4 separate regions of the Homo sapiens genome follow, and all the other regions are linked to region 1. Evidence: promoter capture Hi-C in human tissues and cell types (Jung and others, 2019). All regions are on one chromosome and are shown on one strand. Each heading gives the region's core, a stretch centred on a gene start or on the middle of the fragment in contact. The rest is flanking DNA. Distances are from core to core; before and after follow the strand shown. Region 1 holds the start of ATF4 (activating transcription factor 4). Region 2 overlaps MRTFA (myocardin related transcription factor A). Region 3 holds the start of DNAL4 (dynein axonemal light chain 4). Region 4 has its middle 54 kb from the start of TNRC6B.

What was found. The method cuts DNA at HindIII sites, captures the fragments that hold promoters and counts their contacts. A contact is called where the count stands out against the background at its distance.
Region 2: a contact is called between a fragment that was not itself captured here and the fragment with the promoter of ATF4 in region 1, in 1 of the 25 tissues and cell types used here (lymphoblastoid cells).
Region 3: a contact is called between the fragment with the promoter of DNAL4 here and the fragment with the promoter of ATF4 in region 1, in 1 of the 25 tissues and cell types used here (spleen).
Region 4: a fragment that was not itself captured here is called in contact with the fragment with the promoter of ATF4 in region 1 in 1 of the 25 tissues and cell types used here (lymphoblastoid cells).

Annotation. Positions count from the first base shown.
Region 1 is chr22:39,518,712-39,522,329 of GRCh38, forward strand. It overlaps ATF4 (activating transcription factor 4), which reads left to right and starts at 1,851. Exons shown (of 3, transcript NM_182810.3): 1 at 1,851-2,040; 2 at 2,643-2,960; 3 at 3,062-3,618. The coding sequence starts at 2,735. RefSeq lists a silencer at 1,189-1,388 and enhancers at 1,769-1,918, 2,279-2,328. The HindIII fragment of the contact is 4,198 bases long and covers 1-3,232 here.
Region 2 is chr22:40,433,527-40,437,144 of GRCh38, forward strand. It overlaps MRTFA (myocardin related transcription factor A), which reads right to left. Exons shown (of 15, transcript NM_020831.6): 5 at 1,973-2,028. Among named protein-coding and RNA genes, the nearest start is that of SGSM3, 65 kb to the left of the region's middle. RefSeq lists enhancers at 2,765-2,824, 3,085-3,214, 3,335-3,384, 3,455-3,504. The HindIII fragment of the contact is 3,423 bases long and covers 212-3,618 here.
Region 3 is chr22:38,792,482-38,796,099 of GRCh38, forward strand. It overlaps DNAL4 (dynein axonemal light chain 4), which reads right to left and starts at 1,662. Exons shown (of 4, transcript NM_005740.3): 1 at 1,587-1,662. RefSeq lists a silencer at 1,404-1,853. The HindIII fragment of the contact is 13,707 bases long and covers 1-3,618 here.
Region 4 is chr22:40,122,590-40,126,207 of GRCh38, forward strand. It overlaps a transcript of TNRC6B not described here. Among named protein-coding and RNA genes, the nearest start is that of TNRC6B, 54 kb to the right of the region's middle. The HindIII fragment of the contact is 5,757 bases long and covers 1-3,618 here.

The DNA.
Region 1 (3,618 bases), core at 601-3,100:
CTTGTGTATACCAGTTTTAAAGTTGTTGGTTTCATCTCATTAAATAATAATGAAGAGTCCTCTGAGGCAGCAGGAGGATGTGATGGAGAGTGGCAGAAGTCAGGGTCAGGAGACCTGAGTTCTATGAACAGTGGCAGCAACAGCAACCATTATTGGGCGCTTACATGTACCAGGCAGGCACTGTGCTAAGTGCTTTACATGTATGATCTCACTTCATGAGGCAAGGATACTCATCAGTAGTCTCATTTTACAAATGAGGAAACTGAGGCTCAGAGAGTATAAGTCATTTAGCCAAAATGTCCCAGCCAGGATTCTTTTGGATGCGCTCCCCAAAATCTGTCTTCTAACTCCTACCCCATACTCCCTCCACTGGGAGCCTTGTGACTTTGAGCAAGAAGCTTCATCCCATTGGGCCTCGGTTTACCATTGGAAAGGATTTGTGGGCGAGGTTGAATGAGCGCAGCAGATGGCCTGTGGTTATTTAGAGCAGTGCTTCCCTGGTTGTTTGATATCACAGCGCTCATACTTGTGTGGCCCAGTGAAATGGAGGCGGAAACTCAAAGTTTCCACCTTCACAGGGCCTGACTGGAAGGGGCTGAAGGATGATGGGGAGGTTTCTTGTATTCTTAAAACAGACTACCCCTTCCCAACGCACAACCCCCAGTAAGTGGCCGTGGGTTCCCAAGCGCCTCTCCTCCCTGGGCCATGGGCGTGACTGCTGAAAAGCGGGTTAGGCCGGGGAGTTCAGAATCCGGAGTGAATCCGAACTACCCCAGGGAGACGGCAGCGAAGAAAATCTTGTTCTTAGGAGAACGCAATCTTCGGACACCAGAAGTTCCTCTATGATGCTATTCTGTGGCAGCCTTGCACTTGAGCCGGATGAAAATTGTAAAAACCCAGGTTGGGCGACAGGACGGCGCGTCTTCCCGGCTCCTTTCCAGAGTTTAGGAGGAGCCATGCAGACTCAGCCGGCCTTTGGGGGTAGGTGGACAGGCCCGGCGCGCCCTCTCGAGGCCCCTTCAACCTCCCGGGGGCAGCAGCGCCGTGTCGGCTATGAATGGGGCCTCTGGAAAACTCAGGCTTGGAACAGGTAACCCCCCGGTTTCCGCAGGCCACAAATCACCACCCGCAACCGAAGGACGCGCAGGCTGGGAGCGGCGGCGGGGCCACCAGTGCGGACCTCCACTGAGGGCGGCGGGATCCGACCGCAAGGGCTGGTCCCTGAGGCCACTAAGGGGTGCGCTGGGCTAAGGCCGCCTGGGGGCAGGAGCCAGCGCGATCGTGGCGGGCCAGCAGGCGGGGCTGGCTGAGGACTAGCAGCGACCCGAGACCCCAACCCTTCCCACGCGGACCCCGGGATCCCTCTCCCAGCAGCCGCCCATCTAGGGCCCTGAGCCAATAAGAGCTCGAGATATATATGATTCACCGGGCCTGGGCCAATCACCTTGACGCGCGCTCTTCGCCAGCACCTCGCGCGATAACCTGGCGTCCTCGGCCTTCACAATAAAAACTCTTCGCCGGAAAACGACCTTTCCCCGCCCACTGCGCTGACACCGGAAGCGAGGCGTGTCTGGGAGATCACTCCGCGCTCCGGCGGCGAAGGAAAGAACGGACTCTGATCATAGAAGCCTAGTAAAGTAGTACACCTCTCTCCTTTCGTGAGGCCATAAGAACAAACTCCTTTTCTCGTCACAGCTACGCCCTGGGCATAAACGGTTGGGGCGTCAAAGGGAGGGAGGGAAGGGAGCGGGCGGGAGGAGACGGTCACGTGGTCGCGGCGGAAGGATGCGTCTGTGCTGCGTCCCCATAGAGACGAAGTCTATAAAGGGCCGGCGGGCGGCCACGGCAGCCATTTCTACTTTGCCCGCCCACAGATGTAGTTTTCTCTGCGCGTGTGCGTTTTCCCTCCTCCCCGCCCTCAGGGTCCACGGCCACCATGGCGTATTAGGGGCAGCAGTGCCTGCGGCAGCATTGGCCTTTGCAGCGGCGGCAGCAGCACCAGGCTCTGCAGCGGCAACCCCCAGCGGCTTAAGCCATGGCGTGAGTACCGGGGCGGGTCGTCCAGCTGTGCTCCTGGGGCCGGCGCGGGTTTTGGATTGGTGGGGTGCGGCCTGGGGCCAGGGCGGTGCCGCCAAGGGGGAAGCGATTTAACGAGCGCCCGGGACGCGTGGTCTTTGCTTGGGTGTCCCCGAGACGCTCGCGTGCCTGGGATCGGGAAAGCGTAGTCGGGTGCCCGGACTGCTTCCCCAGGAGCCCTACAGCCCTCGGACCCCGAGCCCCGCAAGGGTCCCAGGGGTCTTGGCTGTTGCCCCACGAAACGTGGCAGGAACCAAGATGGCGGCGGCAGGGCGGCGGCGCGGGCGTGAGTCAAGGGCGGGCGGTGGGCGGGGCGCGGCCGCCCTGGCCGTATTTGGACGTGGGGACGGAGCGCTTTCCTCTTGGCGGCCGGTGGAAGAATCCCCTGGTCTCCGTGAGCGTCCATTTTGTGGAACCTGAGTTGCAAGCAGGGAGGGGCAAATACAACTGCCCTGTTCCCGATTCTCTAGATGGCCGATCTAGAGAAGTCCCGCCTCATAAGTGGAAGGATGAAATTCTCAGAACAGCTAACCTCTAATGGGAGTTGGCTTCTGATTCTCATTCAGGCTTCTCACGGCATTCAGCAGCAGCGTTGCTGTAACCGACAAAGACACCTTCGAATTAAGCACATTCCTCGATTCCAGCAAAGCACCGCAACATGACCGAAATGAGCTTCCTGAGCAGCGAGGTGTTGGTGGGGGACTTGATGTCCCCCTTCGACCAGTCGGGTTTGGGGGCTGAAGAAAGCCTAGGTCTCTTAGATGATTACCTGGAGGTGGCCAAGCACTTCAAACCTCATGGGTTCTCCAGCGACAAGGCTAAGGCGGGCTCCTCCGAATGGCTGGCTGTGGATGGGTTGGTCAGTCCCTCCAACAACAGCAAGGGTGAGTGGGCCACCACCACATCGTCCTGGTGGGATCTAGGGTTAGGGGCCTCCTACCTTTGTATCTGACTCACTTGGCCCCATCACTCAAATGTTTTGCAGAGGATGCCTTCTCCGGGACAGATTGGATGTTGGAGAAAATGGATTTGAAGGAGTTCGACTTGGATGCCCTGTTGGGTATAGATGACCTGGAAACCATGCCAGATGACCTTCTGACCACGTTGGATGACACTTGTGATCTCTTTGCCCCCCTAGTCCAGGAGACTAATAAGCAGCCCCCCCAGACGGTGAACCCAATTGGCCATCTCCCAGAAAGTTTAACAAAACCCGACCAGGTTGCCCCCTTCACCTTCTTACAACCTCTTCCCCTTTCCCCAGGGGTCCTGTCCTCCACTCCAGATCATTCCTTTAGTTTAGAGCTGGGCAGTGAAGTGGATATCACTGAAGGAGATAGGAAGCCAGACTACACTGCTTACGTTGCCATGATCCCTCAGTGCATAAAGGAGGAAGACACCCCTTCAGATAATGATAGTGGCATCTGTATGAGCCCAGAGTCCTATCTGGGGTCTCCTCAGCACAGCCCCTCTACCAGGGGCTCTCCAAATAGGAGCCTCCCATCTCCAGGTGTTCTCTGTGGGTCTGCCCGTCCCAAACCTTAC
Region 2 (3,618 bases), core at 673-3,172, 910 kb after region 1:
GAGCCCCTCAAGTGTGATCCTGACATAGCTGAAGCCATTGTGGATGCTTTCCCACCACCATGTATAGCTGCCTTATGTAGCACGCACAGATGTGAGCAGCTGGTTCCAACACCAGAAAAAGAAATGAAACTTCTCTTGAATACGAGCTGATATTGCTGTGTCTTATTCATCTGGAAGTATGAGATGCAAAAGTAGCAGCTTTTCAAAGCTTTAAGCTTTTAGAATTAAGTAAAGCAAATTCTGCTATAACCAATCCAATATATTCATGTTTCATATCTCAACTAAGATAATTTTTAGTACATGTGTAAATATGGAAGTAGTTATTGTAATGTGGAAGTCATTTGTGAATAGATGTGCATGGTAAGCAAATTGAACGTTATGGTTACCATGTGTTAGGAAATAAAATCATTTTGCTCAAAAAAAATCTAGAATCCACAAAGGTTTGACTCCCAGCTTTGCCACTTATTGGCTGGACAAGTGAGTTAACTTCTCTTAGCTGCATCTATAAAATGAGGATAATACCACCTAATTCATAAGAGTTGATGTGAGGATAAAAAAGAAACAGATACAACCTCTTACATAAAGGTGCTCAATAAAACAGTCTCTTCTAATCAGCTCTGCTGGTCCCTGCCTATTTGAGAAGCAGTCAAGTAAATGGTGCCCAGTCTTCTGACCGAATAGGCGCACAGGCAACGCCATCCTTTCCCCCAACACTGTACTCTCCAGTGCTCTCAGCAAACTAAACCACTGCTGCTTGTTACTCCTTTGGTTCCCAGGACCCATGACCTCATTCTTTCCACTTACTCTAAGAATTAATCATGATTTTCTGGGGAGAGGGGAATGAAAGAAAGTTTAAAAAAAAAAAAAAAAAGTCTTGGAGGTAAATATTTCTGAGACTCTAAAATAGCTGTGAGGCTGGGTGTGGTGGCTCATGCCTGTAATCCCAGGACTTTGGAAGGGCAAGGCAGGCAGATCACTTGAGGCCAAGAGTTTGAGACCAGGCTGGCCAACATGGTGAAACCCCATCTCTACTAAAAATACAAAAATTACCCAGGCGTGGTGGCGGGAGCCTGTAGGTCCAGTTACTTGGGAGGCTGAGGCAGGAGAATCGCTTGAATCTGGTAGGCGGAGGCTGCGGTGAACTGAGATCACGCCACTGCACTCCAGCCTGGGTGACAGAGTGAGACTCCGTCTCAAAAAATAAAGTAAAATAAAATAGCCGTGGGTCTTAAGGAGATGCAGCCCATGATCTGTCTAGGGGGATTATCTTCCCATGATTTTATGTGAAAGGAAAAAGTAAAGGGAGTGTGAGGGGGAAGCAAGTTCTGGTGACTTCCCCATCTCTACCCACACTGGGCAGCAGAATATTCCTCAGGGGCCCCTGGGGAACCGAAACAGAGTTGGGATGGGGACGCAAGTAAGGTGCTGTGGCAGAAAACTTGGGCTTGGAGTGTGGGCCAGTTTCTGCTTTCCACAAGAGTCAAGTGGATACCACCTACTCTGGGCAGATGGAGACCAAGAAGGTTTCCTGCCCCTTGGAATGCCCGTCCTGTGAGGTGTGGCCAGTGTAACCCCGGACTTGGGAAGCTTTTCCATTGGCTAATGTTTGTGTCCCAACATCTACAAAACGTTAAGTGGAATTAAAGATGGGGAAATACCAGTGGTCTCCAAAGCACTCCAAAATTCAGGCAAGGAGGATCGGGTGATCATTCCATATCCTTAAATGTACAAAAAGAGAAACCTCATTCCAATCATGTTCCATATAATCACCATGGGAGGTAAATGAGAGAAGGGATGAAGTAGGAGAAGCAGAGCTTTCCATTTAAAACCACAAGGCCAGGGCTGGCCCTAGAGTCTAGCAGGCTCTGGCCTCAGAGTTCTATGGAAAGCTCTAAATGGAAATATAACCAGCAATGCAATGAGCTCTGAAAATGCTCTTTGGGAGTTCTGAGGGGGAAAAAAGGTACCTTACCCTGGCCCGCTCCAAGCTCCTTCTCTGCTCATGAAATGCGGCTGGACTTTTCAAAGCTGTTGAGAGAAGAACCGTAAAGATTACCTTCAAGCGAAGCATCATGTCTAGTGCTACGATATTCAGTGGAGAAGGCATCTTAAATTCATGTTACTGGCTGGGCGTGGTGGCTCACGCCTGTAATCCCAACACTTTGGGAGGCTGAGGCAGGCAGATCACGAGGTCAGGAGATCGAGACCATCCTGGCTAACATGGTGAAACCCTGTCTCTACTAAAAATACAAAAAATTAGCCAGGCGTGGTGGTGGTGGGCGCCTGAAGTCCCAGCTACAAGGGAGGCTGAGGCAGGAGAATGGCGTGAACCTGGGAGGCAGAGCTTGCAGTAAGCCGAGATTGCGCCACTGCACTCTAGCCTGGGCAACAGAGCGAGAAACCGTCCCCCAAAAAAAAAAAAAAAAAATCACATTACTGTTAGTAGTACTATAAATATCAGTTGAAGTGAAGGCAATGACACCTGAGTAAGCATGTATCTTTATGGTTTAGCTACCCCATTCAAACAGTTTTGGTAGAAACCAAAATATGACTCCTAATGGGAACTGTCACTGCCTAAGCTTGGGCTATATAAAGTGCACCCATGGAATGTAACTTTAACAAACACCCTGGCCCATGACTGGACCGTCAGCCGCAAATCCCCCTTCAGCTAGGACTCCAAGAACGCCTGCTAGGCCTCACATTATTCTCAGGACACCTGCACACAGGAAGGGGCACAGATGCATGCCAAATTAACCTTACTTCCTCAACCTCACGAGGAATCATAAAGTGGCCAAACTGTTTCAATGGGACAGTTAAAACCAAAAAGATATATGTCCACTCGGCACTATTTCCTTCTTCACTGCACCTGTTATTTATAGTGCTGCTAAAATTAACTTGAATTTCATCTCTAAGGACTAAAAGAACCCCATGGCAATTGTATGTGAAGGAACACACACAACCGACAGCTGAGACGAAGGGCTCAGCTCTATTCTGGGGATACCACACAAAGACCACAAGTCTCGACTTCTGCAAACAACACTCAGGTGGCAAGACCAAACCAAGAGCCTCCAGAAAGGCTGCACCATGAATGGAAGGTCTGACTCCTTTTGTCAAAAACTTGGCTGTAAGGACAAATAGCAACTTAAGACACTCTGAGGATGAGAGGGAAAGGCCTGACTCACTTCAAGTAGGGAACAGAGGCAATAAGAGAGAAATTTATAAGACTGTGGTCAGTTTCACTTCTCCTGCCCTAGAATTTCCAAAGAGCTGTGAAACTGCGAGCAGAGATAACTTTTGCTAGGCTGCTGGCTGCGGTAGGAGTGCAGGGTTAAGGAGCTGCTAAAAGTAGCAAGAGAGCATAGATAGGACCCTATCCTGCCTGGGCCGTTGTGCTTCTTCCTCCTTCCTCTCCACCCCCAGCGGGGGGCTGGGCCTCAGCAACAGCAGTCCCAGAAGAAAGCTTCAATTGTCCCAGTGGTATTTATTTTTAAAAATTTTTTGTGAATCTTAAGATAAAAAAGAAACTACAGTCTTAAAAGTACTACTGAGATCCCATCTTCTAACAGAAGGGGGAGCTCTAGATTTAACAAATAACATCAAAGAAAAACCAGTACAAGT
Region 3 (3,618 bases), core at 412-2,911, 730 kb before region 1:
CATGTTGGCCAGGCTAGTCTCAAACTCTTGACCTCAGGTGATCTGCCTGTGTCGGCCTCCCGAAGTGCTGGGATTAATAGGCGTGAGCCACCGCTCCTGGCCTTTATTTTTTATTTTTAACATTTTTAACTTTTTTGTTAAAACTCAGACACAGATACACTAGCCTAAGCCTACACAGGGTCAGGATGCTTAGTGTCACTATCTTCCACTACCACATCTTGTCCCGCTGGACGGTCTTCAGGGCAATAACACGCATGGAGCTGTCATCTCCTATGATAACAAAGCCTTTTGCTTGAATACCTCCTGAAGGACCTATCTAAGACTGTTTACGGTTAAATTTTATTTTCTTATAAGTAGGAGGAGTGTACACTGTAAAATAACAATAAAAGTGTAGGATAGTAAACACATAAACAAGTAACAGTCATTTATTACCATTATCAAGTATGATGTCCTGTACACAATTGTATGTGCTATATTTTATATGACTGGCAGCACTGTAGGTTTGCTTACACCAGCATCACCACACACGTGAGTCATGCATTTTGCTTTGACATTACGATAGCTATGTAACTAGGTGATAGAAATTTGTCAGCTCCATTATAACCTTAGGGCACCACCGTGGTATCTGTGGTCTTTCTTGACCAAAACGTTGTTATATGGTACATGACTGTATTTCAATCTCCATCTGTCCCCTCCCCACCCCTAAGTAACCCTAACCATGGAAGCCCAGGAGGAAGATCAGAGAGGGTCAACTGGAGAAATGACAGTTCATGCTGACCGGGTTGATAACATTTCCCAGAGAGGGAAAATGTGGTGAAGAGACAAAGGAAAGAAACTAACAAATACTGAATCTATACTGGACTGGACTCTGTACTTCATATTAGCCTCAGAATTACCAAAGGAGATGCACCGACGTATACTGATTTTACATATGCACTGATTAAAAGCGCAGGGAGGGTAGGTCTTGAGACTGGGAATCCAAATTAGGTTTGCCAAGTTATTTTCACAATACACGATACCTCCCATTGGGGAGCACATCCTCTCGGAAGCCTAAAGTTGGGTCAAAGAACAACGACATCCTAGAACGTCAGAGTGGAAGAGGCCTTAGAGATCACTCAACTCAACTTCTCATTTACAGATGGGGAAACTGAGGCCCAAACAGGGGAAATGACCAGCCCAGAATCCCAGTAAGTCGCCAACTCTCCAAGCCAAGAGCGGTCTGACCTAGTTGATGGCGACCCCGCGGGAGAGGGAATTACTCCGCGAAAGGTCGAGGGATCAAGGTGCTGGGGGAAGTCGGCTAAAGGGGGACGCGGGACCACGAAGCTGGGCAGGCCTTGGGTGGGTGGGGAAGAGCAGCCGGCAGAGTCGCGATGGCAAACCTGTCACGACAGAGCTCGCAGGTCCCGAAGTGGGGGTGAGGGTGGGGGTTGAGGATGGGAAGACCTGGGGCAGGGGAACAGCAGGCAGGAGACCGAGGTGGGGCCTCGGCGGCGGGCGAGGCCTCTTCCGCCCTGCGTTGCCTCCCGCCCTCCCTCCGGGCCGGCCCTCCCCGCCTGGCTGCCCGCCGCGCCCCGGGGCCTCACCTGCTCCTGCGGGGGCCGGAGCCGGGGCCGCAGCCAGCGAACCCCCGCCAGGGTTGTCAAGGAGCGAAACAAGAGTGTCTTAGCAACCAGCAAGGAAGTCCTGCCCCCTCACCGGACGTTGACGAGAATTTCACTTATTATTGGTGGATAAAAGTATCAATCAGAGTGAAAGGCCCTTATAAGTCAGGCGTTTGCAAGGACAGGGGCGTGGTTTAGAGGCCAGGGAGGCGGGACTTCACTTATAGTTGTCTTAAGCGTGCCCGAGGAGCAGGGGACACATTGAAGTTCTTTTTCTAGGGAAACAAACTTCGAAAAGCAGTACTGCCTTGGGAGGTTCTTTTAGTCACTTGAAATAACAAATGCAACTTGTTGGTGTCGTGACACTTAGCCACTACTTTATTGGGATCTGAAAAGCCTGATAATAACTAGCATTTTTGTAGGGCTGTACAATTAATATCTCACTTGATTCTCATTACAGTACTTTTAGGTGATAATATTCGTCATCCCATCTGAACTAAAGTTCAGAGAGGTTAAGTAACTTGGTAAAGGATGGAGGTAATCTCCCTGGAGAAGGAACCCAGGGGCTCCTTCCTCTGTGCCACACCCTTGTATGGTCACCTAGCTCTAGTCACTAGGAGACATTTGTACCACCTAATTTCAGACACAGTTGCCCAGAGCCTGCCTTTTCTTCCCCTTGGGAGGGAAAATTAATCCGAAAGTACGGAGAAGGAAAAGGGGAAAGGGGAAGAACTGGCGGATTCTATTATTTGATTGGTAGATCAAAGGGTCAGTTGGGTACTTCGTAGTTTAAACCTTTATTATTGTGATGAGTACTTGGGGTGAAACCCCACTGCCACATTTACTAGCATTGAAGCTGTCTTTGCCAAAATTATAACTGAGGAAATTATGACAGTGAAAGAGATCAGACCTAACCCACTCCATCTTGCCTTTCTAGCCTTTAAGCTGTCTTTGTTCATTCCTAGGCATAGGCTGAACGAACCTTGGGAAGGAATTTAGTTTATAGTTTTACTCTGAAACAAAATTGACAATAGCCCTTTCCCAAAAAGGCTCCCTTCCTGCCTTGGGACCAGTCTGCCTTTGTAGGACTAACAAATTAGCTACAACATTAGAAATTATGGTTTAGGGGTCACACAGCAGCCTCTGGCTGCAAGAGTCTGAACCTTCCCAAATTGCTCCTGGGGATAACATCACTATTGTAAAACCTAAGATCAGCGCTTGAGATATTTTGCAGACCCTGCGCTCGATGGATCAGCTGACACCACCCAGACCAGTAATGTGGCTCAAACAGTTCTGTGATCCCACCCAGGAACAGAAGACAGCAAGAAAACCTCACTTCGACCCCCTCAGTATTCCATCTTCGACTTAATCAATCAACACTCCTCGCTTGCCAAGCCCCTACCCACAAAATTATCTTTAAAACCTCTGATCCCTGAATGCTTGGGTAGCATATTCAACTGCCTCCTAGCCATGTGCACCAGAATGTTCCACAAGCCCTTCAAACTCAGTGTGTCCCAAACTGAATTGATCATCTCCCTCCAATCTGCTCTTCCTGCATTCCCCATTCCAGTAAATGGCACCACCCCCGACCCAGTTGCCTCCATCAGAAAACAGGGGGGAGTCCTTCACCCTTCCCACTACAACAGCCCACTTCCAGTCACAAGCATGCCAATTTCGACTCCTCACTATTTCCTGATACAGCCTTTCTGGCCACGTTCATGGCACCCTCCATGTGCACAACACCACAATCCCATCTACCTGAGTGCAATCTCCTGGTGGGACTCCCTGGCTGCAGTCTTGCACCTCTCTAATTTATCCTCTGTACCATAGTCAACATGACCCTGCCAAAACCCAAATCTCACCGCTGCATTCCTCTGTTTGAGTAATTTGAGTAATAATAAAACTCCCCTCTCCCGCACAGCTGGCTCTGTTTGAATTACCTTTCTCCATTGCAATCCCCCTGTCTTGATACATCGGCTCTGTCTAGGCAGTGGGCAAGGTGAACCCATTGGGC
Region 4 (3,618 bases), core at 287-2,786, 600 kb after region 1:
CATTAAAGTAAGATCCTGTTACCTTCTCTGGAGTGGATTGTGTGCAGGTGGAGAGGAGCCAAAGGTGGAAACTCAGGAGCCAGGAAGAAGCATTCCCCTTTCACAGCATGTCCAAAGGGAAATGGAGATCACTGGGGATCGGACCCTGAAAGAATAAGAATTCAGAGTAGAGAATGTCTTGTGAGTTGGTCATCTCCATGTACTTATTAAGTACCTATTATGTATCAAGTGCAAATACATTGTCAGTGAATCCTCAGAATAACTACTATTCCCAAGTTTTGGTAGGGAAGCTGAGACTGAGACAAATTGAGTAAATTCCCTCAAGGTCACACATCCGTAAGCATTCGGGTCTGTTGGACTCTTCAGTGACGGCCACAGCTCCCCCTCCAGGTTCCAGTCACTGCCCCTTCCGCTTCAGGTCTAGCAATAGTAAGGTTCCCAATTGTTGTCAGCCACTGGGTGGTTCAGTAGCCTTTGTTGGTTTCCCTATTTCCATTCTAACATGTTGGAAAACTGAGGGCTGTAGTAGTAGAGAAGGTAAGACTTGGGCCTTGGTAGGATCTTATTGGGACACGATGGATTTTAAGAAGTGAGTGGAGGGGCAGAAGTCTTGGTTAAAGCCTTGGGTAGAGGGTGATAGCATGGGGGAGGAGAGATGACAGTGTGCAGTGTTGGGGGATAGGGAGGAGGAGTCGGTAACGGGAAATAGCAGTGATTGTCAGAGAAGGAAAAAACTAATTTAGCCAGGCAAGTCAAGCTAGAAAGAGACTTAAGAAAAATAGAACAGCCAAATAGGAGAATCCAGAAAGGATGAAAGTAAAAAGATTAAAGCTGAAGGAGAAGCCAGCAAGTTGAGAGCAGTGCCCTTTCATAGAAGAAACAACCACTGCCATCCCTTCTTCCTCTCCCGACCTCCTGTCTCCAGTCAGTGCCTCCCACTGGCTTAGCCCAGCCAGCAGCCAGAAGATAAGGAGCCCAATGATGGTGTCCCCTGGGGCACACAGTTAGGCGGAGAATGGAGCGTGGGTCTGGAGGAAGCAGACAGTACAGCACCAGACCAAGGAGTGTGCTGAGCACAGGCCTGCAAGCATGAATGGAGTTCCAAGGAGTTTTTCTGGTTCAGCTATGCCTATAATGCATCATCTGGTTCAGCTATGCCTATAATGAAACAGAGAAATGCAGTCTCTGTTTCAGTGAAGTAGGAGAACTTAAAGACATCTGTGAAGCAAATTACACATAAAATCTTTCTGGATAAGTTATTGAGTTTTTCCAATGCTATCAACCTAATTTTTATAGAAAGAGAACTTTTTTTTTTTTTTTTTGCACAACTGTGATAAATAGGTGAGGGACAAAATCAACTAGAGAAAGCCTATTTTCACTTGCTGTGAGCATCCCTCATGTGTTTTACAGAGAGGATGGGCAATGTTGATTAAGCTGGGAGCAAGTGAATGGATATCAATTGAGAGCTTCTACTGTACTGATTTTACACTTCACATCACATAAATATGCATTTGTTCCCAACAAGACCTTGCTAGGTGGGTGAGCAAAGTAGATATTTTGGTAACCCCTTCCCACCCAGTAGATGAGGCAACAGCTTCCTGGAAGTGCCTTCTTAGCCTTGAGTCTTGGCTGGTTATAGAGAAGCCTACACCAAAACAGATCATCAAGCGTTGTGCATTAATAGATTTTTCTTGCACACACAAAAAACATACACTACCAGCATCTTTTTACCTTTTTTTTTTTTTTTTTTTGAGACAGGGTCTCACTCTGTTGCCAAGGCTGGAGTGCAGTGGTGTGATCACAGCTCACTGCAGCCTTGACCTCCTGGACTCAACCAGTCCTCCCACCTCAGCCTCTCAAGTAGCTGGGCCCACATACATGTGTCACCACGCCTGGCTAATTTTTGTATTTTGGGTAGAGGTGGGGTTTCGCCCCCAGGCTGGTCTTGAACGCGTTAGCTCAAGCCATCCACCTGCCTCAGCCTCCCAAATTGCTGGGATTATAGGCATGAGCCACTGCACCTGGCCTTTTTTAGTTTTTATGTTTTGTAGCTATGAGCTTTAGAGTAGCTGATAGGTTTGTAAATATTCATACCTGTATTATAATGGAGATTTGTGTCATTTGAATAATTATTCCTCAATAGGGCCAGGAGCGGTGGCTCACGCCTGTAATCCCAGCACTTTGGGAGTCTGAGGCGGTCGGATCACGAGGTCAGGAGTTCAAGACCAGTCTATCCAACATAGTGAAACCCTGTCTCTACTAAAAATACAAAAATCGGCCGGGTGTGGTGGCAGGCGCCTGTAGTCCCAGCTACTTGGGAGACTGAGGCAGGAGCATCGCTTGAACCCAGGAGGTGGAGGTTGCAGTGAGCCAAACTCTCACCACTGCACTGCAGCCTGGGCGACACAGCAAGACTGTGTCTCAAAAAAAAAAAAAATATTCCTCAATAATTACATATGTAATGAATTCTTGAAAATGTTGCATAAATTTTTAGTAGTTTCCTTTTGGTACATTTTAATTCATAAAATTTTAACAAACTTTTTCTTGACTCATTTTATTCTTTGAGGAAAACTTAATTACTTTTTACTGTCTTGCCCTATAAATAGTCTCATATAAAAATAAATGAACTGACATTTAGTTTATTAAGCACATTTCCTAAAAATGAAAAGTGGGGCCAGCCATTATAGTGTACTTTAATTTCAGTTATAAAGAAAGCAGGAACGTTATTCATAAATTATAAGCCCGGGAAACCCTGCCAATTCCAATAGCCTTAGCCTAATACCCAGGCACTGTGACCTGCAGGGGCGGAACAACAGGTGCGCCGCTTTGCTCACTGCCATACTTTCTTGCAGGTCAGTGTCTGCTGTAAGAATTTCACCACCACCTCTGCCAAAAGCCAAATAAAATAGGGAAAGAAATCTAGAGCTATTAATATCCCAATGCTGGAAACCTTTCCTATCTACCCTTCTCCCCCAAGATGGGAAACATTCCCTCCCTGCTTCTCTCCCTCCCTTTCTTACCTTTAAGATGCATGTGCATAGACACACACACACACACAAAGTTACTCAAAGTTACTTCACAGTATCTGTGGCCTTATTGAGAGAATTTCAGTCTAAACCTTTGAAAAAAAAATTTTTTTGCCCTGAATTCCTTACATACTTTTTTCTTCTCTCTTCTTTTAGGCAGTATTTTTGTGTTTCTGCAGAGTTTTGCACAAAATCTGTTCCCATGCAAACCAATGAGGGAGAAGTATCGGAAGAAAGCAGTTCCAAGGTCAGTAAATTACTGAAAGGTACAGTTTGGGTAGAAATTGAACAGTAGAGGCTGTGGATGAGTAGAATGGGTATTTCATTTTACATGACTGTAAAAATTCGATTGAGTTAAATTAGAACCTAACATAAGATTGAGAAATATTTTTTCTTTTCAGTATACTTTTTAATCCTATATGCTAATTTAAAACAATTTTACTGAACTACAGAGAACTTTATAATTTATTTTTAGAACACTAATACTATGTCTTTTAAAGTTTGTTACGAAAGTTACTATAGGCTTATAAAAAATCAGAAGTATATAAAGTCAGGAGTCAAAGCTGGTCCCCTGTTCCTGCTGCACAGAGGC